Regions from separate parts of the Homo sapiens genome. Here all the other regions are linked to region 5. The links are contacts of gene promoters, found by promoter capture Hi-C in blood cells and fetal thymus (Javierre and others, 2016). All regions are on one chromosome and are shown on one strand. The core of a region is centred on a gene start or on the middle of the fragment in contact, and the rest is flanking DNA. Distances in the headings are between cores, read along the strand shown.

What was found. The method cuts DNA at HindIII sites, captures the fragments that hold promoters and counts their contacts. A CHiCAGO score of 5 or more calls a contact.
Region 1: a fragment that was not itself captured here is called in contact with the fragment with the promoter of PVT1 in region 5 in 1 of 17 cell types (total B cells); the score reaches 5.3 in total B cells.
Region 2: a contact is called between a fragment that was not itself captured here and the fragment with the promoter of PVT1 in region 5, in 1 of 17 cell types (total CD4 T cells). The highest score is 5.4, in total CD4 T cells.
Region 3: a fragment that was not itself captured here is called in contact with the fragment with the promoter of PVT1 in region 5 in 1 of 17 cell types (total B cells); the score reaches 5.5 in total B cells.
Region 4: a fragment that was not itself captured here is called in contact with the fragment with the promoter of PVT1 in region 5 in 4 of 17 cell types (total CD8 T cells, activated CD4 T cells, naive CD8 T cells and 1 more); the score reaches 7.3 in total CD8 T cells.
Region 6: a fragment that was not itself captured here is called in contact with the fragment with the promoter of PVT1 in region 5 in 1 of 17 cell types (endothelial precursors); the score reaches 6.8 in endothelial precursors.
Region 7: a fragment that was not itself captured here is called in contact with the fragment with the promoter of PVT1 in region 5 in 6 of 17 cell types (non-activated CD4 T cells, total CD4 T cells, total CD8 T cells and 3 more); the score reaches 10.1 in non-activated CD4 T cells.

The regions. Positions count from the first base shown.
Region 1 is chr8:127,173,071-127,176,894 of GRCh38, reverse strand. No RefSeq gene overlaps it. Among named protein-coding and RNA genes, the nearest start is that of CASC19, 23 kb to the left of the region's middle. The HindIII fragment of the contact is 189 bases long and covers 2,320-2,508 here.
Region 2 is chr8:128,640,839-128,644,629 of GRCh38, reverse strand. No RefSeq gene overlaps it. Among named protein-coding and RNA genes, the nearest start is that of LINC00824, 78 kb to the right of the region's middle. The HindIII fragment of the contact is 559 bases long and covers 2,211-2,769 here.
Region 3 is chr8:128,312,170-128,316,031 of GRCh38, reverse strand. No RefSeq gene overlaps it. Among named protein-coding and RNA genes, the nearest start is that of MIR1208, 160 kb to the right of the region's middle. RefSeq lists enhancers at 473-1,155, 1,782-1,941, 1,840-2,523. The HindIII fragment of the contact is 2,312 bases long and covers 1,162-3,473 here.
Region 4 is chr8:128,675,907-128,679,490 of GRCh38, reverse strand. No RefSeq gene overlaps it. Among named protein-coding and RNA genes, the nearest start is that of LINC00824, 110 kb to the right of the region's middle. The HindIII fragment of the contact is 1,148 bases long and covers 846-1,993 here.
Region 5 is chr8:127,792,565-127,795,999 of GRCh38, reverse strand. PVT1 (Pvt1 oncogene) reads right to left here and starts at 1,476. Exons shown (of 9, transcript NR_190187.1): 1 at 1,266-1,476. It overlaps MIR1204 (microRNA 1204), which reads right to left and starts at 38; the gene lies at 1-38. RefSeq lists enhancers at 1-340, 441-490, 212-783, 784-1,353, 2,496-3,066 and silencers at 1,471-1,630, 1,641-1,700, 1,721-1,770. The HindIII fragment of the contact is 6,547 bases long and covers 1-3,435 here.
Region 6 is chr8:126,829,836-126,833,625 of GRCh38, reverse strand. The region is part of intron 3 of LOC105375751 (a long non-coding RNA gene); the gene reads right to left. All of the region lies in intron 2 of LOC105375753 (a long non-coding RNA gene), which reads left to right. Among named protein-coding and RNA genes, the nearest start is that of PCAT1, 180 kb to the left of the region's middle. The HindIII fragment of the contact is 3,615 bases long and covers 579-3,790 here.
Region 7 is chr8:128,656,930-128,660,537 of GRCh38, reverse strand. No RefSeq gene overlaps it. Among named protein-coding and RNA genes, the nearest start is that of LINC00824, 94 kb to the right of the region's middle. The HindIII fragment of the contact is 8,526 bases long and covers 1-3,608 here.

The DNA.
Region 1 (3,824 bases), core at 1,165-3,664, 620 kb after region 5:
TAGTTAATTCTCATATCTTTATTTAACCTTTCTTATGTTTCTGCAATGTTTTCTCAATTATTTTTAATTTCTTCTGAAGCCGGACTTCATATATTGATACTCTGCATCATCATTCCTGATTCAAAGTGAAGTACTCTAAGCCTCCCACAAAGCTTCTGTCCATTCAGTTCATTCATGCGTTCATTAATTTTTCTACTTCATTTATTTATTCATGCAATAAATATTTATTGAGTACGTATTTTGTTTCACTCTTCTTTTTGTTGATACATAATAACTGCATATTTATGAAGTTCGTGTGATATTTTGATGCATGCATATAATATATAATAATCAAATAGGGGTAACTAGGATATCCATCATCTCAAATATTTATCATTTCTTTGTATGGAAAACATTCCAAGTCTTCTCTTCCAGGTATTTTGAAATATACAATAAATTATTATTAACTATAATCACCCTAGTGTGCTATTGAACCATAAAACTTATTTTTTCTAACAGTATTTTTGTAACTAACAAGCCTCTTTATCGCCTCCCCTATCAGCCTTTGGTAAGCACCATTCCACTTTCTACTTCCATGAGATCAGCTTTTTTAGCTCCCATATATGAGTGAGAATGTGCAATATTCATCTTTCTATGCCTGGCTTATTTCACTTAACATAATGTCCCCCAAGCTTACCCATGTTACTGAAAATTACAGGAGTTCATTCTTTTTTATGGCTGCATAATATTCCATTGCCAGGCACTTTTCTTGATGCTGGTATAATAAAAGAGGCATTCTTGCCCTCATGGAGCCCATGTTCTAGTGGATCAAGGAGGCAAAATATATAGGAAACCTAGATAGCACAAGGGAGAATATTAGCAGCTCCAGGTCTATTTGGCAAGGTTAAGCTGTCTGCATGGAACCCTAGCCAGCAATGGCCAAATCAAGAATGGTTTCCTGCGCATGGCTAGTTCCTGCTGTATCTGGTGTCAACACTGAATGGTGGAATGTTGACTGCTCTGAAGGTTTTCCTTGATGCCCTTCAAACTGGCCTGGCCAAAATAATTGGACTCTTCTCTCACTTCCTGTCCCAGATTTTATTTCACCAAGACTAAAGTTTTGCCTTAAATGTTCAAGCTTCACTTGAAAACTTGTTCCCTGATCTGCTCTTTCCAGGTCCCACTGGTAGAGATTGTTCCTGGTCTTTCCTCCCCTAATCCTGGCTAAAATACTGCTTTAAGATGGAATCATTACCATGGCATTTCCATTTCTCTGTTTTTTTTTTCAACAATTTATTTATATACATTAAAATAGAAATGAACTACATGCTGTATATGAAACATTTTCCTGGGAATTGGGGATATAGAAGTAAATGATACTTTTGATCTAACATGATTTACCATGTTTCACATGATATTTCTTACGTAGCAGCTACTCAATCCTCTTTTGTCCTATTTGTCAATATAAAATTGTTTTCAAAAACTTTAAATGTCTTATGAATTTGTCAAGGATTTCCTGTGGCTGTAGATATGCTTTTGTGTGTGGGGTGTGTGTGTGTATGTGTGTGGTATATGTGTGTGTGTATGGGTGTGTGTGTGTATGTGAGTATTGCTGTGTGTATGTGCATGTGTTTGTACATGTGTATATGTGTGTGTGTGGTGTGTGTGTGTGTTTTGCATGTCCTTCTAGGTTGCCAAGCACAACATCATGTGAAAATAAGGAATTTTGAATAAGAAGATATACATGCAATATAAATTATTTCTGTAATGGTATAAATTTTTGTGCTTAATGTTATGGACACTTTTGAAAATGGTAGCTAAATCAATGTTGAGTCACTTTATTTGCACCCGTAAGATATCAGGAATTATGCAGAGTTGATGCATGTGCAAAGGTGTCTGTTATAGTTTGGATGTTTGTCCCCCTAAACCTCATGTTGAAATTGGATCCTAATTTTGAAGATGGGGGCCTAATGGGAGGTGTTCAGGTCATGGGGGCAGATTCCTCATGAATAGATTAATGCCTTCCCTGGAGTGGGAGGAGAAGTGAGTGAGTTCTCACTCATTAGTTTTCAAGTGAACTGGTGGTTAAAAAGAGCCTGGCACCTGCCCCCCTCCCTTTTGCTTCCTCTCTCACCATGTGGTCAGTTCACACCAGCCTTTCCTTGCCTTGTACTGTGAGTGGAAGCAGCCTGAGGGTGTCATCAGAAGCAGATGTTGGTACCAGGCTTCTTATAGTTTGTAGAACTGTGAACCAAAGAAACCTCGTTTCTTTATAAATTATTCAGCTTCAGGTATTCTTTTCTCACAACACAAAATGATCCAGGACAGTACCTAAAAGCTTCAATTTGCCATTTGATTCTTTCTATGAGATGACTAGATTTTTTGGGAGGACAGGTCTATCTATCTGGAAAGAAGCCGTTTGGAATGGAAGCAGTATGAAACAAGCATAATTTTCTTGGTTTAAGCCAACCTTATTATAAGCCCCTGAATCTTACAACTTTATTACATTTCTGCAAATATCCAGAAGCTTATGTATTTATTATTCTTTCAGGCTCTTGAGTTTCTGCTTTCAAGTGACCCTCAGAAATTCCTCCATTCACTGCAGAGGTTCTGTTTCTCCTTGCTTTGTTCTGACTTTACGGCAGAACTAAGCTAATGAGTTAGTTACTATGGGTTATCACTTGGATTTGAAGAACCATCATTTCTAGGCATTGCTGCTCAGAGTGGTAAGTGGACCATTACAAATCAACATTACCTGGAAGCTTGTTAGAATTTAGAATCTTAGGCCCTATCCAAGACCTACTGAATCAGAATACAATTTAACAAGATCCCCAGGTGCAGTATAGTTTGAGAAGGACTGAGAGTCTAGAGGAATGGCAGATGCAAGGCAATAGGAAGGTCCATGCTTAGGGTTGTGGGGAGATACAGGTTCCCACACCTCTTCTCACCTAGATCCTCCATAAGAGCAGAATTTACTGATAAATTGTTTTGATTTTAGGATACTGACTGCAGACCTGGGACTAGGGTAATGTAAGTGAGGCTCACAGGGTGCAACATTTCCAGAAGCACCCACTCGCAGGTGCTGACCCTGCAGGTGTCACAAATCTGAGAATCCATGCCTCTGTAAAATTTTCACCTGAAGGGCCTTGCTCGCCTCACCCTCACCTTGCCCTGTGGAGTGCTCAATTTGACTATTAAATGGGAGCAACAGTTGTTGAAACGTTATCTACCTGTGGGCATCTCTGCTCTCTCCTTCCATTCTTTATGACAAAAGACCCTCTAGAAGTCTCTCTCTCTCTCTCTCTCTGTGTCTCTGTGTGTGTATGTGTTTTCTCTGTGTGTGTGTGTGTGTGTGCGTGCATGTGTGTGTGTCCTTCTACACTTTTGCAACTCTTCTGTGGTTTGATAAGAAAACTGAGAATTGGAGAGCCCCTCTAGTCTATTAGTTGGGCCATTTATGTTCAGTTTACTAAGACTTTGGGGCATCAATCTAGCTCAGAAAACTCCAGACCTTTGTTTATCTTTTCTCCTTCATCTTCAAGCATGAATTTTCCCAGATATCTCATAGAGGGGTTGTTGAGAAACGGGGTAGGATTCAGACATTCCTGCAATCCCAGTTTCTTACTAGAGAGTTCCACATTTAGAGATATTTGGGGTTTCTCTGGTTATTTATGGTGTTAGTTTATTTTCTATATAGTTAATGCTCCCTGGAGCATGGTTTCCACAGCAGAAAACTCTGAGAGGAGGACAGCTGAGTGGCTGGGTTGCCACAATACCACCAGGGCTGGGGTAGGCTCCTGCAACTTTTAAATCTTCACTTTCCTCCTCTATAAAATGAGAATGAC
Region 2 (3,791 bases), core at 1,241-3,740, 850 kb before region 5:
ACCTTACAGAAACAAAGCTGACAGCCAAACTGGATGAAGTGATAAAGATCACTGGGAATTAATAATTTTGATTTAACTAGTATTTATTGAGCACACAATATGTACCAACAGCCATATTTGGTACTTTGCAAACATTATCTCATTAAGTCTTCAATTTATTGATGAGAAATCCAAGATCACAGAAGCTAGGTAATTTTCCCAAAAATTATACAACTAAAAGAAATTATAGAACCAGGGTTCAAACTTGGCTCAGTCTAAATCTAAAACTCATTCCTTTCTACTGTCAGAAAAAGTTTTTTAATTGAAGGCTTCAGAAGGATTGCTTTTGAGAAGAAACATGAGATGTTGTGACTATTTCTAAAAGAAAGGAATGAATGTTAACAGAGGTTTATAAAAGCAAAATTATTTTGGTTGTGGCTCCCCAAGCAATGAGTCAATTATGCACATACTGAGTTAAAGAAGAAGGAGAAGAAAATAGAAGACGACCATGATCTCTGATTAGATATTTGGTTAGCTTGATAGAAAATGAGTACTGAAATAAAGTAGAGATGGAGATGAAGATCAAATATACAAAACAAAGTTGGAGCAGGGAAAAAATAGAATGAGAGAAGATAAAAAATAGGAGAGAAAGAATAAAATGAGAAGATAAGAGAAGAGAGGAAGGAAGGAAGAGACAAGGAAAGAAAAGTAAATAGAAAAAGGAAAGGAAAGAGAAGAAAGGAGGAGGGAAAGGAAGTGAGAAAGGAGGAAAAAAAAATCAATATCCCTCTTTGTAATAAATACGCTGTGAAATCACTTACGGAAAAATTGAGTAGATGTAATTTTCCCTATTCTCCCTGCTAAGTAAAACAAAAAACTCTGTGTATTATACATAAAACCATAATAAGAATACTCTGACAGGTAGAGTCAAGGCAGACAAGCTAGGGAGCAAGGAATGATATGGTGATGAGTTTCCTGAATTTTGTTTTTGCTTTACATTTCCCAGATTAGAACTGAAGACGTCAGCAACCCAAAAATGTCAATGGGCACAGATTAAATAATTATTATTAATAATAAATAAATAATTAAATCTGTTCTCTTGAGTGAAAAAAGCAGGAAAGGAGCCATCTAGCAAGTCAGAAATATTGTACATAGTAAATTTACTATTCTAGCCAAACACCAAACACCACAGTATATGTTGTGGCTTTATCCTTACACATGACAACAAAGGCTGAATGGGGAACTCAACTTTCACCCTTATCTGGCATTAACAAGGTATTCTAACCTCCCCACTGTGATGGTTTCAGAGAAGGCTGTGTAGGGAGTCTATGCTTCCATTCCCACCTGACAATAATGCAGCACCACTACACTCCTTCCTGGATTTATGCCAGAGGAATCCCAGTAGAGAGTCAGAACTTTTACTACTGCCCAAGAATAACAAAGCTAAAACCCTTGTGGTGTTGATGGTAGAAGACGGGTTGATGTTGAACACATCTTCTTTAGAACTTTTACTACTGTCCAACAGTAACAAGGCTAAAACCCTAAATGGTGTTGATGGGAAGAAAAGATCCTGAATCATTATTGCCAGATGAAAGTAGATGTTCAGATTCCCTTGTTAGCCTTTGTTGACACTCAAGGGAGGAGGCTCTTTGTTAATGCTGCAGATAGTGGAAGTTTTGGCTTCTCACTAGGTCTACACTGATATCTCCCAGACCAAGAGGGGTAGGAGTACATCAGTGGAGACCCCGTGAGGAGCCAAGACTTCCACTATACCCAGTGTTAACAAACAGCCTCCTCCCTTGGGTGTCAACAGAGGCGAAGAAGGAATCTTGACATCTACTTTCATCTGACAATAATGATGCAGCATCTCTTCTTCCCCTGCTAAAGTACTATCAAAATAATTTAGCTAAAATATAAGATTTACATAATATCCAGAATCTTATAACATAATACTGAAGATGTCCTAGGTTTGAAAAATAAGTAATTTGTCACAGCAAAAACCAGGAAGATCTCAAACTAAATAAAAAAGTCTCTAATTAATGTGAAGACTAAGGTGAAAAAGATATTAGCTTATCTAAAAAAATTTAAAGCTGACATCAGAAAAATGTTCTAACCAGCAATTACAAAGGTGCTTAAAACAAACAGAAAAACAGAAAGTCCCAACAATAAAATAAAAAATCTCTGACAGGAAATCGAAGACATTAAGGAGAAACAAACAAAAAGGGTAAGCTTAAAAATATAATAACCAAGTTAAAAATCTCAATGAATGGCTCAACATCAGAATGGAGGGAAAGGAAAGAATCATTGAACTGGAAGATAGGATAACAAAATTGCCCATTCCAAACATACACTGTTCCAGAAAATAGACTGGAGAAAATAACAGAGCCTCAGAAACACATTGAACTATTTTTTGAAATGCTAAAAAAGGGGCTAAAAATTTCCCAAATTTGAGAAAATACATAAATAGAGAGATTCAAGAAACTGAATGGATTTCAAACAGAATAAATCTAAAGAAATCCACATCAAAATACATAATAGTCAAAATTCTAAAAACTAAAATTAGAAATCTTGAAAGAAGTGAAATAAAACACCTTACCTATAGGGAAAAACACTTCTAATAATAACAGATTACTCATTAGAAACTATAGTGGTCAGGAGAAAGTGACAATAATTTTCAAGTATAAATATTCCTTGACTTATGACGGGTTTACATACTGATGAACCCATAATATTTTGAAAATATGCCAAAAATGCATTTAATACACCTAACCTGCTGAACATCAGGAAGCTTAGCCCAGTCTTCCTAAAATATATTCAAAAACTTACATTAGCTTATAGTTGGGCAAAATTATCTAACAAAAAGCCTATTTTATTGTGTTGAATAACTATTGTAATTTATGGAGTATAGTACTAAAAGTGAAAAACAGAATGGTTCTATGGGTACTGAAAGTGCAGTTTTTACTGAATGAGTATTTCTTTTGTACCATAGCAAAGTTAAAAAGTTATAAGTTGAACTACCATAAGTTCAGGACCATCTCTTTAAAAAAGAAACAAAACAACAATAACAAAACAAAAAACAAACAAACGAAAAAACCCTGCCAACTTATAATCCTATATGCAGTAATAATATACTTCCATAATGAAGAAAAAATCAACATATCCTCATATGAACAAAAACTATCAGAATTTGTCACTAGGAGACCTACCCTAAGAAATTAGGTAAATGAACTTCCCTGAACAGAAATGAAACAATAAAAGGAACCTAAGAACATCAGTAAAGAAAAACAAACAGACAAACAGAGTAAGCAAAAATATGGGTAATTTTCTCTTCCCTTGAGATTTTGAAATTATGTTTGATGATGGAAGCAAAAGTTGTAATACTGTTTGATGTGGTTCTAAATGCATGTAGCAAAAATATTTAAGACAATTATAAACAGGAAGGTAAAGATTGTAAAAAGAGGTAAATTTTCTATACTTCACTCAAACTGGTAAAATGATGACACCAGTAATGTGTATGTGTGTGTGTGTGTGTGTGTGTACATGTATTCAAAATGTATTTAACATGCCTAACCTATTGAACATCTACAGTTATAACTACCTAGAGTTATGACATATAACAACTAGATCAACAATTAAAAATAGCTATACAAGTAGATACACTCAAAATGCAATAGATAAATTAAAATTGAATTTTAAAATACGTTCAAGTAACCCACAAAAAGGGAAAAAGCCAGTGCAGTGAAAAACAATAACAAAGAGTAAATAAAAAATGAAATGAAATATTATAAGTGTTATAAAATGAAATAAAAAAT
Region 3 (3,862 bases), core at 1,068-3,567, 520 kb before region 5:
CTTTAAAATGCATATCAACCATAGCCCCCCTACGTCATACTCCCCATCTACTAGTGCCTGTAGAATAAAGTCCTAGCTCTTAAGCATAGCCAACCAAATCCTCCTTGACCTGATCCTAGAGTCCCTTTACTGTCTCCATAAGAAATTTGCCACCAACCAGCACCATGATATCTTCAAACACTTTACTGAAGATCTGGGGGCAATTGATGTCAATAAAAAACTATTGATTAAAAAAACAAACATTAGTGGAAATGTGATCTACAAAGTAGAGATTTGGAACACATACTTTAGTTATACCAAATTCTACTGCCCCTCCAATGCCATAGCACTTAACTAGCTAGGTGGCATGGAAAAAGAAAAGGGTGTGCAGCCACAAGAAAGACAGAGGGAGTTCTTTATCTACTGACATGGACATATGATCATTTATTTAAGGAGCCCCCTATTGATGGAAATAGAGATAGTTGCTAATCTTTACAATTTACATTACTAAGATATCGGTCTGTCTGTCCGCCTTAGGGACAGTAGGCCTGAAGGGCGGGCAGAGTAAAACTGGGGACCCTAGTTACAGAGCAATAGGCCAGCTAAGAGAAGGGAGGTATTTAAGGACCTAGAGGCCCTGGACTTAAGGCATTTAACCTTGCTAGGAGAAATGCAATAAATCAGTAATTTCAGTGCATTCATTCATTTAACACATTTATTCAGCATCTATTATGTTCTTCGGGCTCTATCAAGCCCTGAAGATAAAGTATGGAATAAACACTTGACCAGTCTCTGCCATCATGGAGCTTTCAGCCTATTGAGGAAAGACGGGTAAGTATTTCAGAAGGGGCTAATCCAGCCTGGCGAGAGGATGGAAGTGGTTTTCAGTAAGAGCTGCACTCAGCAGCGATCACAGAGGTAGAAAAATCGCTTATCAGTGGTTCTCCAAGTGTGGTCTTGATCTGTAGCAGAAGCATCACCTAGAAACTGGTTAGAAATGCACATTGTAGATACCACTGCAGACCTCTGGAATGATAAACTCTAGGATGGGTGGGGCCCAGCAATCTGTGCTTTAGTAAGCTCCCCCAGGGGGTCTTTACACAGCCACAATTTGGGAGCCACCACCTAGAAATCCAAAAGATATAAAGCAACTTTCTCTGGCTGGGACTGATCTGGAAAGCTTAAGGCAGGAAGTGACCTATGAGCCCACCTTCAAAGGAGAGTGAGAGTTCCCCAGGAGGACAATCAGAGCTGGTGGGGAACATTCCAGAAATTCCAGGTGTTTGTGTTCCTGAGCCAGCTCGTAGTACCTCCAACCTACATATTTTTCTTAATAGATTTAGAACTAAATCGGGGGAAATGACTTATGCACAAAGTTATTAGCTGCATTTTTGCAAACAACGTAAACACCCGTCAGCAGAAGACTTGTTGAATCAACTCTGATTCATGCATGTAAATGAGGACTCTTCCTCAGTTTAGAAGGAGAGAAGTCTTTATCTACTGACTGGGAGGTGAGTTGTAAAATACAGTGCTCAGTACAAAAAGCCAGCTGCAAAATCATGCTACCTTGTCTGTGAAAAAATAAAACCATACATATATGTGTAGAATACTGCAGAGATGCATAAGAAACCAGTAACAGTAGTTTGCCTCTCAAGTGGCGAATTTAAGGAAGCAGGATAGGAGAGGCGGGTGATCTTCACTGGACACCACTTTGCACCTTTTCAATTTTGTTTTATGTACATAGGGTTACCAATGTAAAGAAACAGGAGAGATATCCTCTTCAATAGGCGAACAAGTGGAGGGGAGAGGAGAAGGCGCCTGTTCTGAACACCCTCTCTCAATCTCACCCCTGTGACACCTCTTGGGGAATTTGGCAGGGTGGGGGATGTGACAGGGAGGGGTGCTCGGTGTGGTGTTATATTTATTGCTTTCAGTACCTATTTTGTTCTAACAGGATGTGCTGCTTAGGGTCGCAGCCCAGGACCAAAGTAATAAAAAGGTTGCTGTTCTTGTTACAAACCTTGAGTTCCTGGTATTTGGGAAATGGTCACTGAATAGAGCAACAGCGGGGGTGGGAGACAGAGGTGCAAGAATTGGGGGAGGGGCACAAACAACCACTGTGGTGGGAAAGGGGCCCCATGGGGAGCTCCATTCAGAAAAAGAACAATTGGTGGTTTCAGGCAGCTGAGCTGAGAGCAGGGAGGGAAATGAGACAGCCTATGAGAGAGGAAGACACTGACCCTTGCCACTATCCAAAAAAGGAAACAAAAAATAGGTGCAAAAGAAGTGGCTTTTCATACAAAACGCTTCTTGGTTTAGCAGCTTTTGGCACTCTCAGAAAAGATTATCTTGACATCTCTTTTCTATCTCGGCTTCCCCATGTCCCTGGAAAGAGAGGGAGCTCACCTGGGATTACAAAGCACCAAGTACGCATCTCGTTCTGCTTACTGTCCCTTTTTGTGGTCACCTTGAATCCTCTCCAAATCTCTTCCAGAAAAACATCCATTTTGCAGATATGAAACTGAGGCTTCGAGCAGCAAAGTAACTTTCCCAAAGTGGTCATAGTGGAGCCAGACTTTGAACCCAGGTCTTTCAGACTCTAAAGCCTCTACTACACTTTGCTGCACTTGCTATACGATTTTAGACTTCTCATTTTGCCTCTCTGATTTACAGTGTCAAGTGTAGTGTTCATGTTCACTGTACAGGCAGAGATAGAGAGAGAGAGAGAGAGAGAGAGAGAGAGATGGTGTGCTACACTTAGCTAAGGAAAGATCTCTTCTCAGACTCTGAAACCACTCTACTTGGAATCAGCCACTTGGGCCCAGACTCAGACCCCTGGATTTGAAAACTGCAGTTGAAGGGAGCAGAGAGCATGGTGATGTTTCCAAGAAGACAAAAAAAATTCACCAAGGAAATCCTGTTTAAGACAGAGGAAGGATTCCCAGTATTTATCTGAGCTAGTAACCATGGTTTGTATTTGCTTCTGTAAAATACTGGTTTATCAAGTGCATGTACATGACGGCAATCTTGAGCCCACCCATCACAGGAGTTTTCTCCCGTCTTCATATTGGCCAATAGCCAGGTCTACACAGCTCTCCAGCTCCAAGAACATTGTCAAGATAAAGGTTTATTTGGAAGGGATGTGACCTTCTTTGGGGTTTCAACAAAACCCTGCAGATGGCTTTAAACTGAAAGGCACCTTGACTCAAATAAGATATGACATCTCTGGAATTTGTTCGTTGAATCATTCAGCAAGGTTCATTGAAGACCTATTGCATCCTAAGGATACAGAGATGACTAAGAGATAATTCCAGTCTTTACACAACTTATAGACACTAACATATACAAGTGTAGCAGCAAAAGATGAACTCTAAAACAGAGACCTCAGCCAAGGCTACGGAGCACAGTGTGGCAAGTGGTCAATTCTCTCCAGGACTGGGGCAGTGAAGCAGAGGTGAAGAGTGGGGAATTGTAAGAAGCCTCTAAAGGAAGCTTTGAGATAAGCCTAGCAGAATGGAAAAAAAAATAAAATAAAAGGCATTCCAGGTAGAGAGAAGAGCGTGAGCAAATTTTTGGAGGCTTGAAAGTTTATTATTCATGCAAAGATGTTGCTCATACAGGAAATCTGTCTCAAATTTTTTGCCCTGCTACCAACTTGCTATATGATTTTAGACATCTCATTTTGACTCTTTGATTCGTAGTCTCAAGTGTAGTGTTCATGTTCACCGTAGAGGCACAGAGAAAGAGAGAAACAGAGAGAGACTTATTTCCATTTATGGTAAGAAGGGATACAGAATTGCATTGTCAGAGAGAGTCCTAGCTGGATTTATCACAACCTCTAGGAATCTCTCCATGAGACACACATGTTTGACTAAAAGGCCAG
Region 4 (3,584 bases), core at 170-2,669, 880 kb before region 5:
TTGAGTTTTCAATTCAATTTAAGTCAGCAAATATTTTTACATTTCCTTTTGCTGAGTATGTTTTGAAAATTATTCTAGATACTTTGCATTCAAGACAGTTTATAGTCTGTTTTATACAGGAAGTAAATAGAAAGAGCTATAATATTGTTTGGCTCTGCGTCCTCACGCAAATCTCATGTCAAGTTGTAATCTCCATGTGTCAGGGGAGAGTTCTTATGATATGCAGTTCTTATGATAGTGAGTGAGTTCTCACAAGATCTGATGGTTTGAAAGTGGCACTTCCCCACTCATTCTCTCTCTCTCTCCTGCTGCCATGTGAAGAAGCTTCTTACTTCCCCTTTTCCTTACCCCATGATTGTAAGTTTCCTAACATTTCCCACATGTAGATACCAATGTTGGAAATTTTATAAGAAAGGATAGCTTTTCAACTGCCCTCAAATTGCATCAGTTATAGACTAGGACACGAACAGGAAAAGCTGGCACATTTGAAGAGAATGTGACATATTGAAACATAATTATATAAGGGGCTGATTAATATTGGTCAGAAAAGCAAAGGAAAAAAGGCAAAAACTTAATTCTAAATTCTATTTTAGAGTAGTTTCTAATATCAACTTTTTATATAGTTACAATATTAACTTTAAAACAAAAAAAGATCTTTCTTTCATAGAAGAAGTATAACCTGGTTATTAAAGATAATTATGGATGACAAAATAAGCAGAAATTCAATGAAAGGAGAAAATTATCCATTGTTCCAAATCATCCCAGTGTATCCATTTTTGTAATCCTGGACTAATAATTAATTTAAATATGTAACAGATACATAATATTCAGGCACAACTAAAGCTTATTTCTAGTGTTAATGACCAATATCCACCTGACTAGGGTATAGTTGTGGCCATAAGAACTAATAAATGTTTGTTGAATTAAGCCAAAGACCTTACTTGGAAGGAGCTAGGTATATCAGTTCTTTATTACTGTATTAAAAAACTTTAAAACTGTCACTTTTAATATAACAATCAATTGCTTATGATCCTGTGGCCCAACAAATTGAGTTGGTCTTAGTTGGGTAGTTCATTTGTTGGTCTTGGTTGAAATCACTTAGGTACCTGGTAGCTCATCAAAGACTAGATAATCCAAGATTGCCTCACTCACGTTTTTGGTGAATGAGGCTGGCTATGGATTAATTGGTCCAGGGGCCCTCAGCTGGGATGATTTATCACTGCTCCTCATAGCCTCTCCTCAGGGCAGCTAGATCAGGTTTCTTTGCAGGATGATGGAAGCATTCCCAATGGACAAGAGCAAAAGCTACAAACCTCTTGGAATTTAGGTTTGCAAGTTATACAGTGTCTCATCTGAAACATTCACTTAGTCAAAGCGAAGTGTAAGGCCAGCCCAGATTCCAGGGAACGAGAAATATGTGCCACAACTTGATGGAAGGAATGGTCACACTGCAAAGGAACATGTGTTCTGGGATGTGAAAAACTGTTGAGGTCATCTTTGCAAACTATGTACCAAACTTTATTCATTGCCCTTTGACAACTCAACACTATATGCTTTATGCATGTTTATATTAGACTAATCAATGCTGAACAAATATAAAAGATTCTTAGTTTTGTTCACATTGTGCAAAATTCAGTCATTAAAGTATAAGAGATTTTCCACTGTGACTATATAAAGGTATGTCCAATAATTGTTTCTTATTTTGAATATTTCTTTGTCTGATTTTTTCCCCCAAATTTGTGCAATGCATAAACTTCAGATGGCAATGACCTCTTTAAATGAAATGGATGCATTCTAAATTGTCCTCCCAAAAGCCTATGTCACCAAAGTGGGAGGGTCTGTTTCTATGTTCCTGATTTTTATAAGAAAATTGAAATTTCTAGTCAAATGTTGCATTATGACATTTATCAGTGTTATCAAATTTATAGAATTGAGGTGAGGATTAAATCTGGCAATGTAGAGCAGCAAGAACTGTGGCTAACTCTAGGAAGCTTTCAACCTAAAAGGAAAGATTGATACAAACATGGTATCACAAGAATGAATCTTATCCTTTGAAATATCCAGCTGCTGTATGACTCCCCATAAGCAATGCTAGTCAATGCTGACTCTAGGGTTTTAATGGGAAAATCTTTAAACATGAAGATTTTCTATTGCGTCTGTGTAGAGGATCATCCATCTATACATAGAGAGATGAGCACTAAAAAAGAGAAATGAACAAGTTCCATTAAGAAATTAAAAGATGAAGAAACCACAGCTAGTTGTAGAGAGCAAGAAAGGGCCAAGATGCTTCATAAATGTTTGTTCTCTTTTTCCATTTTGCCTCTCTGAATATGAGTTTTTTTCCTCCCTGTAATGAGAGTTTTAGATTATATAATTTTGGCAGTTCCATTGAACTCTAACATTTTATGCTCACTGCATAGGCACTCAATTGGCATCATAATTTCCAATGCTAGTGAGTCAAAACTGTTCCCCACAATCTCTCATAAATAATCTACTGTTCCATGAAAAATAATTTTTAAATAACAATATATTTGCATCATTTGTATTCCTTAGAAATGACACCACCCTCATCCAAGAAAAGTTGATAAGAAGGGCTTAACCTTTCAGTTGATATCTGCGTGTAGAATAGAAAAAAAACCAACCAGTCAAAATGAAAAAATATATGTAAATTATTGGGTAGGATGGTCATTTTAATGGTATTGATTTTTCCAATTCATGATTATTTGTGTCATCTCTGATTTCTTTTAACAGTGTTTTGTAGTTGTCATTGCAGAGATCTTTCACCTCCTCAGTTAGATGAATTCTTAGGTATTTTATTCTCCTTGTGGCTATTGTAAATGGGGCTGTCTTCTTGATTTGACTTTCAGCCTGGACATTATTGGTATATAGAAATGCTACTAATTTTTGCACATTGATTTTGTAGCCCGAAACCATCTTAAAATTGTTTATCAGTTCTAGTAGTCTTTGGAAGAGTCTTCAGGATTTTCTAGATATAGAATCATAACATCAGTGAAGTAAGATAGTTTGATTCCTTTTTTTTTTCTATTTGGATGCCTTTTATTTCATTCACTTGCCTGATTGCTCTGGCTAGGACCTCCAGTACTACATTGAATAGGAGTGGTGAGAGTGGGCGTCCTTGTCCTCTTCCAGTTCTCAAGGGGGACCAACGTCATTCTTCACAGAATTACAGAAAATTATTCTAAAATTCACATGCAAGCAAAAAAGAGCCTGAATAGCCAAGGCAATCCTAAGCAAAAAGAATGAAGCTGGAAGCATCACACTACCTGAATTCAAACTAGAATATAAGAGTACATTAACCAAAACAGTATGGTACTGGCACAAAAACAGACACATAGACCAACAGAACAGAATAGACAACTCAGAAATAATGCTGCACACCTACAGCCACCTCATCCTAAAGAAGACCAACAAAAGCAAGCAATGGGGTAAGGACTTCGTGTTCAATAAAGGATGCTGAAGTAACTGACTAGCATATGCAGAAGAATGAAATTGGACCTTTACCTTTCACCATATACAAAAATTAACCCCAGACAGATTAAAGATTTAAATGTAAGACCTCAAAC
Region 5 (3,435 bases), core at 227-2,726:
GTAACTCATCTCAAATAATGGAGACCAGGCCACGAGGTTTCTCCCAGACACGGATTCTGTATTTGTCCTTCTGCAGCTTCCGGGAAGGTTTTTCTCCTAATAAATCCTGTAGAAAGTTCCACTCAGGGTTCTGAGGATTGATACAACCCCCTTCTTGACTGATCAGAGCTTTAGAAAGATTCGCTATGACCACAGGACTGTGTCAAGTTGAACAAGTCTCAACTTGTCGCTGCCAGTATGCAAAATAGGTCTGAAACATCTTATAACAGACAACACAGCAGACACAGTCCCTGCATCCTCAGGGCCCCCGCCCACCCACCACACACAAACACATTTCTCTAGAGTTTTTTTTTCCTAGCAAGGAACTAGCCCCAGTAGCCAGGATTCACAGTGGTGGAGTGGGCGAGAGACAGGCTAACAGCCTCTCTCTGGAAAACCTAATACCAGAAAGGAAACACCAAAACCTCATCCTCTTGTCCCTAAATCCTTGCACGTGATTTCTTCTCCTCTCTAATGTTCTAGAAGGGCCTAAAGTCAGGAGCTTAGATGAACAGAAGAATCTTCCATGCCTGCAAACCACCAGGAAAAGGCATGAGGCATCCACACACAGACGCATGCAGCTTCATGGCTGTGCTTCCTGAAAGTCTACACCCAGAACCACAAACACTGGCATAAATAAGAGCACGTTAGCAAGAGAAGGCAAACCTAATTAAATCAACAGCCCAGCCAAGAAGAATGACCATGATGAGGGTTTAGGAGCACCCAACAAACCCTCACATGCGATGCAAAAACTGAGAAAGTCTCAAAACACGGAGTTACTGAGTTTTTGGAAATCACCTTCGCCCAGCCCTGAGGGGGTGTGAGAGGAAGCGGGGAGTGATGGTCAAAGGATGGAGGGAGGATCACACATTCACAGACCTCTAGTTTCGCCAGAGGGGCCTCCAAACCACATCATGGCTCCAAATCTGTTCTGACTGCAGAGGGGTCTATTTTTAGAAATTAGTTAATATGCCTTTGATCAAGTTCATAAATCCAGAATTGCCTCTATGCACCGGCCATTCGGTGTCATCCCCCTCCCCTCACCCTCCCCAAACGCCCAAACTCGCCACCAGTCTTGAGGCTGGTGATGAGGACAGTGCACGCCTAGCACACACATATTGGATTCCGAAAGCCCCTTTCCTCCGTCCGACTACTCACAGCGCATCCCTACTCAGGGCCAAGTCTCGAGAGTTTCCAGAAACGCAGGGGACAAAATTGGAACTTACTGGAGGGCAGATCTGGCCGTGTCTCCACAGGTCACAGGGACCGCCAACATCCTTTCCGCAAGGAAATCCACTGGAAGGTGCCGGGGGTCCCGGGGCACATCTTTGCTCGCAGCTCGTCGTCGCCCCTCCTCGTCCCGGCCGCCCCGAGCCCGCCCGGCCCGCGGGCCCATGTGCTCGGCCGCCACACGCGCTCTGCCCGGAGGAGCGCGGGGCTGGCGGGTTGCCCGTGACGTCACGGCGGCTCGCGCTCGGGCCTCGGGGGAGGGGGGAGGCGCGCGCGGCCCGGCCCGCCGCGTGCGTCCTCGGTCCCGGCGCTCCCGGCCTTCCCCAGGTCCCCGCCCGCCGCCCGGTGCGCCCCTCAGCCTGCTTCCCGGCAGCGCAGGGCACTGAGCCGGAGAGGGCCGCGCGCGGAGGCGGGGCGGGCTTGGGCGACTGCGGCCGCCAAGGGCCCAGACTGGGGGAGCGGAGGGTAGGCTCTGCCCTGGGCTGGGGGTCCTCGCTACAAGCGCGCCGGAGTCCCACCGGGCCGGAGGGAATCCCCGGTGATGCCAGCTCGCTTGTGCGCCGAGCTTTCCACGGTCTTTCCCTGAGCCCTCTTACCCTTCCCCACACCGTCCTGGAAGCAAGCGGTCTTCCCACTTTCCTGCTGAGGAAGGCGAGTTCAGTGAAATAGGAGGGCCAGAGATGCTCCGGGATAGGTGCAGTTCCCGCAGAAGACCGCCGACTGAGCTCCAGCTCCAGTGATCTGAGCGCCTCTTTGGGTACCACCCAGCATCCGCCGGCCTGGTGAGAAGGGCGCGCGCACCTTCTCGCCTCCTTCGACGTCTCCCGCTGTTTCCAGAAGCCGAGTTGCAAACCCGTGCAGAGGGCCAGCGGTCTGCGCAGCTCCCTCCACTCCGGGCAGAGTTGACCTACAGAGTGTGTTCAACGAGTCCCTTAAATGCCCAGTAGTTCCTCCAAAGGAGCAAGTGGACACTGGCCTCCCATGTGGGATGTGGTTATCTTGTTCTATCTGCATAAACCCGAGACTGGACAGATGTAAGAGCTGCCCCTGTTCAGTTCAAAGTTTATTTTATTTATTTATTTATTTATTTATTTATTTATTTATTTAGAGATGAAGTTTCACTCTGTCACCCAGGCTGGAGTGCAGTGGCCCGATCATGGCTCACTGCAACCTCCGCCTGCCTGGTTCAAGCGATTCTCCTGCCTCAGCCTCCGGAGTAGCTGGGATCACAGGCGCGCGCCACCACGCCCAGCTAATTTTTGTAATTTTAGCAGAGACAAGGTTTCACCATGTTGGCCAGGCTGGTCTCGAACTCCGAACCTGAGATGATCCACTCGCTTCGGCCTCCCAAATTGCTGGGATTACAGGCGTGAGCCACCACGCCAGCGCCCGTCCAGTTCAACGTCTACTGAGCACTTAAGGGGAGTCAGGCACCCAGCTAGGCAATGGGGTGGGGGTTACTCATGGACCCTAGAAGGACGTCACAAACCAGCAAAAATTGGACACACAAATGGGTGGTATCAATATTACGGAACAGAAGGTTGCCCCTCTTCTCCCCTGCCGGCTACCCTACATCCTACTCACTCCAACCTACCCGGAGGCTCCTCCCTCTTTCTGTGTAGTGTTTCATCACATCTCTTCCCGTGGCGGCTTCTCAACGCAAATGTTCTTATTTGAAAAAGAAAAAACAATTACTCAGTTGATGCTCCTGTTCTGCCTGTTTCACAGATTCATTTACACTCATGGGCATCTCTTTTGTGCCTGGCTCCTTGCCAGGAGCTGGACAAGTCTCCGCTTTGTGCCTGGCTCTCTGTGAGGGGCTGGACAGGTGTCTGTTTTGTGCCTGGCTCTCTGTGAGGGGCTAGACAGGTGTCTGTTTTGTGCCCGGCTCTGAGAGGGACTGGGCAGGTGCCTGAGCTGCAGTTGGCATCTAGTTGTCATCCATCTTTTAAAATATAAAAAGAAGATGATGAGAAACCTCTGCATCTATACATCATGCGATAGGAGCTGTGAGACCTTAATCCTTTCACTGCTTAATCATTTTTTCCAGAAACCAAAGGCTGTGACCTTGAGGAAGCCAGTGTCCTCCTGGGGGATGCTGGTGGGCTATGAGAGGACCAGCTTCTAATGGCAGACGTCTCTGTCCATGTCCTGACAGTTGATGCC
Region 6 (3,790 bases), core at 1,137-3,636, 960 kb after region 5:
GGGATTGAGGATCTTTCTGATCTGTAATGCCTGGACTCATAAACAATGTCAGTATCACTCGTGAGAGATGAGTAACAGGAGAGGCACAATTAGCAGGCCAGAGAGTCCTGCAAACAGTCATTAAAGTCTTGAAGGATCTGGGCAGCAGTGTGGTACAGCTGTTGAGCATGTCAATTAGGGATTCAGAGGTAGGGTGGGGGAGAGAATGCCGTTCCAAGGAAGCCAGCAGTTCTCACCCTGACTGGTGGCACGGCAAGCTACTGTATCATACAACAGGGCCTCTTCCCCCCGCCCCCACCAAAAAAAAGCAAAAGAGAGAAGAGGATCGAGAGGTCCCAGATATGAATTTCCTGCTGCACTTAAAGAGCTACATGTTTAGCCAAGATTTCATGATCAGAGTTTTGTACATCGGTTATTAAAAGAAACCATTCTTCAAAAGGAAAGTTTAGTTTTCCCTGAAACTGGAGCATTTGCTTAATCAAAAGGAACAGTGCACCAGGGGAAATGACCACCTCTGCTATTACAAGTAATGGGATTGAAAATTTCCTATCATAATTTACTCATTAGTCCAAAAAGCTTTATTATATCGCGGTCACAAAGATAAATAATGTCTAGTTACTGACCTTGAAAAATGCACCTGTAATATGGTAGAGAAAGCCGCACAAACAGGTAATTACAGTACAACAGAGCATGTGCTGCAATGGAGGTGGGTGCCCACTGAAGATGGGACGGATCAGGCTGTGCTGGGACTGGGAGGCTGAGAACTGGAGGCCAGAGAGCAGCAGTAAGAAAAGGGAGGGTAAAGATAATGAGGTGCAGAGCGGTCTCCTTACTGTGTTTTTGCATATAAACTTGTGCGGTCCTTCACGGCTCCTTAAACATAGGCTAATTGGTACTTTTCTCCTTTCCTGAAATTTCTTCAACCTTCTTTCATTTTTCCTCTCAACAACCTTCCATTCCGATTTTACTCATTCTTGCCATATGCTTCCTGCCTGTGAATGTCAGTGTCTGTGTTACTCCTGATGTGTGGAACAACCTCCCAGGATTTTAAGTGTCTCAGACAACCAATCATTCCAGTCTTTTCCTTTGCCTCTTGATATGGTTTGGCTGTGTCCCCACTGAAATCTCATCTTGAATTGCAGCTCCTGTAATCCCCACGTGTCGTGGAAGGGACCCGGTAGGAGGTAACTGAATCATGGGAGCAAGATATTCCTGTGCTGTTCTCATGATAGTGAATAAGTCTCATGAGATCTGATGGTTTTTATAAAGGGGAGTTCCCCTACACACACTCTTCTTGGCTGCCACCATGTAAGATGTGCCTTTGCTTGCTCTTCACTTTCCGCCATGATTGTGAGGCCTCCCCAGCCATGAGGAACGGTGAGCCCATTAAACCTCTTTCCTTTCAAATTACCCAGTCTTGGGTATTTATTCATAGCAATATGAGAATGGACTAATACAAATTCCTATCCTACCTCCCTCCTGAACTCATGTGGCAAAGGTTTTTGCTTTTATTTATTTTTGCTTGACAATGAACAAGAGAAAATAATAGGTAGCTGAGGAAGTTAATATAGAAGACGGTTCCTATTTCTTTGCAAATATTTCCAGGAAAGTGACATAACCAGGGCTTTGAAACAAACTGGCTTTTCATTACTATTGCCTCATTGAATACTCAAATCATTTTTACTTGAGGCATACAATAAAGAGCTGCATATTGGGTGGTATAATTTTTGACTTCAGGATGTTTTAGAAGATTTGGGGTACTTCTATCTCTCATAATATTTCCCTTTTAGAAATTCATCCCCACCCCACCAACCACCACCATGTTCTTTTTGAGTTGGTCACTTATATGGTCCAGCCTGTGATGACACAGGGTTGGGACCATGACTCAAACTGGTCACAGTGTCCCATTTCCCTGGCCATAGGGATTGGTTTAGACATGAGGACATGACACAGGCCAGAAAAATCCTGAAGCCATTGACAAAAACAACCATCTGGTTTATCTGAAACTGCTAACAGCATGTGTTATAATCTTGGACAGTGTATGGAGAAGATTTAAGTGAGAATAAGCTAACACAGAAAAGCAGGAGGAAAGAGGGAGAGAGAAAGAAAGAGACTAAATGAATTTTTTGTCTTTGAATCCAGCTATGTTCAAAACTAGAGCTACCTTCTTAAACTTCCCAGATATGTAAATCTTTTAACTCTGCCTTTTGTTAAGTTGATTTCCATTAAGTTTGTGGCTCTTGTAAGCCAAAGCATTTTTTCAAATCAAATTGAATAGACATATATCACACTGATGTTAATAACATCTTAAATGAAAACAGGTTTATCAGAGTAAAGTGGAAAAAAAATGGGTTATATAGTAAAAAAAGAAAATGAAGAAAGATACAACTGAGACAATACATGATGAAAAAAGGCTCAATTTGCCAGGGAAAAAGTAGCAATCCTAAATATAAAATATATATATGTATACATACATACACATATGCGCCAAACGACAGAGCTTCAAAATAAATGAAGCAAAAACTGATAGAGTTGAAAGGAGAAACAAACAATTCCAAAATGATACTTAGGGACTCTGACATCCAACTCATGGCAAATGACAGAATGACTGGATAGAAAAGCAGCAAGGACATACAGGAAAATGACCTCACCTTGAGAAAGAACATCTGCAACACGCCTACGCAACCTCATGCTTAAAGGTGAAAAGACTCAACGCTTTCCCCCTAATATCAAGAACAAGGCCAAGACATCCACCCTCTCTGTTCTTATTCAACACAGTGATGAAAGTTCAAGCAAGCACAATAAAGAAAGAAACATAAATAAATAAAAGGCATACAGATTGGAAAGGAAGAAATAAAATATTCCAAGGAATCTACCAAAAATAAAAATTATCCTAGAACCACACAGAGCACAAGATCAAGATAGAAAATCATTTGCATTTCTTTATACTGACAGCAAACATTTGGAAACAAGTTAAAAGCACAATACCATTGGCAATTACACCAAAGAAAGTGAAATACTATGGTGCAAATCTGACAGAAGATGTAAAGGATCTCCCTTCTGAAAATTACAGGGGCCTTTTCTTAACTAGTGAAAGTTCCTTTGGGCTGTTCTCATGTCCATCTGGAATTTTTCCCATTTCCTGCCTGAATTCCTGGATTCTCGGATGATTCTTGTCTTCCTGTCAAAATCAAGAGATGTCAGATGAGGACCATGATAAAGCCAGTTGTAAGTTTTCTGATGTCTACACCAAGAAACTCACACTTAGTGGGATGTCTGCTCTCAGGTAGAACCTAACCAACCAGTTAGGAGATACCAAGAGCATAGTCTTTAATGCCTGGGAGGACGGGAGCAAGCAGAGATCTTGGTTAATAAAAGCGTTCAAAAATCTATTTGTGAAATCAATGTTTATTCACTTAATTAGAAATAAATATGTAAATAAATGGAATTCTGTCGAATAAGTAAAACCCAATTGTGGCACATGTTCTATTTTCCCTTTAGTTTTTATTTTAGTTTTGGTTGTACATATGCAGGCTGGTTCTATAGATAAACTGTGTGTTACAGGAGTTTGGTGTACATATTATGTTGTCACTCAGGTAATAAGCATAGTACCTGATAGGTGGGTTTTGGATCCTCACCCTCCTCTGATCCTCCATCCTCAAGTAGGCCCTGATGTCTACTGTTCCCTTCTTATCTGTTTTATTTTAAGCACTTTTGTATCTTAGCAAGTTGAATCCTCACACCAATTATGTCAGTCGAACATCATTATCCTCATAATATACATGAGGGA
Region 7 (3,608 bases), core at 585-3,084, 860 kb before region 5:
ACCAATAGTATATATACACATATACCTCAATAAAAGTTTCAGGTATTTTTACGAGCTTATTTGCCACTCATGAAAATTACACTTCTAACAAAAAAATACATTAAAAGTGTGACTTTGGTGTTTGCAACAATATTTGCTCAGCACCCAGTGCATAAGATCTAGAATAAATTTTGTGGACGTTCAACTAACTCCAAGTCCTTACTAACCAGTTACTTACTGTTAACACTTCTATATATCTTTTTAAATTTTCCCATGACATGTACAGATGTGGAAACAAAAGTAACTTGACCAACATCCCCAAACTCCAGTATGATGCTGGAATGTGAATGTTCTCTCTTCTTTCTTCAAGTCCAGTGTGCTTCACTCTGTAAGTGTTTATTTAAAACCAGTGAAAATATGGGTGCTCAACATTAGAAAACCACTTAACAAGAGCTAAAGGCCAGATACGAATTCTCTTTTCATCCTAATAGGTAACACTCCGGAACACCTTTATATGACTGCAGGGATGGAGGGGATTGAGGGTTAAGCAGGAGAAGTAACAGAGGGGAAAGGATTACATTTTCCCCACATAAGATTAGTTTTGCCTATGGTTTAAAAAAATGCAACCAATTCTAATCTGGATGTAGGTATTTCTCAGTGACTGGGCCTGTTTGCAAGCTCGAGCCCCTTTTTCAGAGAAAGCCGGAAGCTGTGTTTCACTGTAGATGGGAACTTAAAAGCAGCAGCTATATATAGCTCTATAGCCTTAACACACACACACACACACACACACACACACACACACACACACACACACACACACACACACGGCCTCTAAAGAGCCCTAAACTTTCTGTTTCAATCACCTTTAAGTTCTACATAACCCTCATTTTCTGGCGGGAAACTTATTAAGCAAATTTTCAGGGGAGATATCATAAAATGGAGGCCATGATGATGTTTCTTGTGCAATGTACTGAGAGAAGATGTAGCACAGGACCAGACAGCGGGAAGGAGATTACAAGGCTACTTTTTTACTTGAGCTGAGCTAAAAGGAGTCTCCTTCCACATTGAGTCTACAATGCAAACTCACCTACAGCTGCAAAATCAGTGAGACGGGAAAGATGTTTTGCAATTTTCAACATTGGCAGCTACTAAAAGTGATTAGCTGTTTTTTTTTGTTTGTTTGTTTGTTTTTAAATAGCCACCTGAATAGGTGGCTACACCTCTATAGAGGGTAGATGTGGTTAGAAGATGCCTCCAAAGGAGAAGTGGAGGCACAAAACACTGAATATATATTGGAGTCCTTGAAAAGTATGTTGCAGTCACTAGCAGGAATTGTTCCAAAGCAGGAATTGTTCCAAATTCCAAAGCAGGAATTTACTTTTCCCTCTTTGCCCTTCTGGGAGGATGAGCCAGCCCAGTGCATGAGAAGTACTTATCTAGATCACTTTCATTTTATTAGCAACTCTTGCACGCTCTGTCCAACAGCAGCCAGATGAATTCTCCTTCCCTGGGCCACTTAGTCACAGCTCCCCTCTCAAGAAATGCATTACTTTCCCCTTGCTGATCCCAGAGGTTTGGCTTGTTTGCTCTCTTTTTCATAGCTGCCACTCTCAACTTCTCCGTAAGGGGCCTCTTTGTTAGAGTGGAGCTCTGCCTCTCCAGCTACCTCTTTTCTGCATCTCTTGAAGGCCAGGACACCAAACCAAAAGTGTAAGACCATGAAATTGCACAGGGCAGGCAGAGCGGTGAAGATCTCAGACTCTGAAATCAAACATATCTGGGTTCAAATAGGGTTCCTCCTGTTGTAAAACTGTGCGATTTTAGCCAATTCTTTGTCTCAATTTTTTCATTTGTAAAATTAGAACAAAAATAGGACTAATGTGTCACAAAATGCATGCAAGGTTCATGGCACATAGTAAGGACTTAATACATTTTAGTTATTAGTATTAGTGTCACCATCATTATAATTACTGTCATTACCATCATCATCATTGTCTTCTTTAATCATTATAAAGAAGTAGACAAAAAATGAAAATCGGAAATTAGGAAATTTTTAGGAATTTTAAAATCTTACTAAATTCTCACAGATTTTTTTCCTTAGAATATGTCTTAATCCCTTTATTTAAATGGCATCACTAGAAACTTATTTCTCAAGAGAAGATGTAAATTTACATGGAGGAATCAGTAAGAAGAAGGAAAAGGTCCATGCCTTCCCCACCTCCACCACCTGGTCCAGCTGGGCCCAGGTGAAGGCCTAAAGGAAGCAGAGCAGGGGTGTGGCCACCTAGGGTCTCCTGGCAGGCAGCCTCTCACTTCCCTTTTGCCCTGTACTGAGCTCAGCACTTGGACTTCCCTTTGCTTTCTAATTCCCACTCTATATTCACAGTAGGCTCTAGTGCTGTGGTTTATTTTCTTAATTGCTTCCCTGTCTAGACTACAGGTGCTTCTGGAACAGGGAGTGTGTTTTGTTCAGCTTTGTGTTCTTCCTGCCAAGCACAATGTTGACTAACTGATTGTTTACTGTTTTTTGTCTACTTCCTTGTAATGATTAAAGAAGACAATCATGATGATAGGGACAGCAACTACAATGGTGATCAAGATACCAATAACTAAGATTTATTAAGTCTTTGCTAGACGCCTTACTGCTACCTCTCTCAGTCTCACTTTAAGTTCCTCTTCTATCAGTGCAGAATCACATTAGGAAAGAATCATAGATGTAAATAACTCCTTCCCAAACACACATACTCATTCTAATGGACAAATGGGCGAATGGGCTCCAAGAGGGACTATCTGGCATGAGATCTCACAGCAAATGAGCAAGTGGCAGCAGCAAGGCCAAGATACAGGTCTCAGGGCTCCTAGTTGCATACAGTCTCTGTGTTCAAGGGCTCACGGGCTCCATTTATGATTTGGGGGAACCCCAGATAGGTGACTCACCACAGAGAACTACCTTGTTTCCACAGGAAGGATCACCTGCACTCCTCTGTCATGCTCTTCTTGGTGAAAACTGCCCCTGAAATTCAGTGACCACATCCTCTCTTTGTCATTTACACCTTACTGGGGTCTTCCCCTTTCTCCTTCCCCACCTCCACTTTCAGCAAAATCAGCTCATCCTGGATATCAGCCAAATTCTTTTGTTCTAATGTAAGGGTGAGTACTAAAAATGTCAAGTCTATGTGATTTCAGAGGGGCCTTACAGAGGCCAGCGTCTCTAATCAAAGAAATGATTGCATATCTTGGTGTCAGGAGGGCAGATATGAATGGTGGCATTTCCAGATCATTATGGAGTCTGGGGAGTATTGTGCTGCCAGACAGGATACAAACACTGTGCATCTTGTACCCTTGAATGTGTTGATGGTCCAGACAATTGGTGAGTGCAACATGTATAGTCTAACCCAGAGGCTACATAATGTTCCCCATTAGTATCCAAAGTCTCAATCACACTACCTGTTCCTTCCACTGAAGTAGAAATAATAGAATTGGAAGTAACTGTTATGAGAGCTATTATTTGTTTATTGACTTCTTACTATGTGCAAGTGAGATATCTTGTCTATCATATCATGTATATTTTAGTAAACCTCAGCAACTCTTCAAAGTGGGAGTTAATATGAAGAAAACCAAACTCA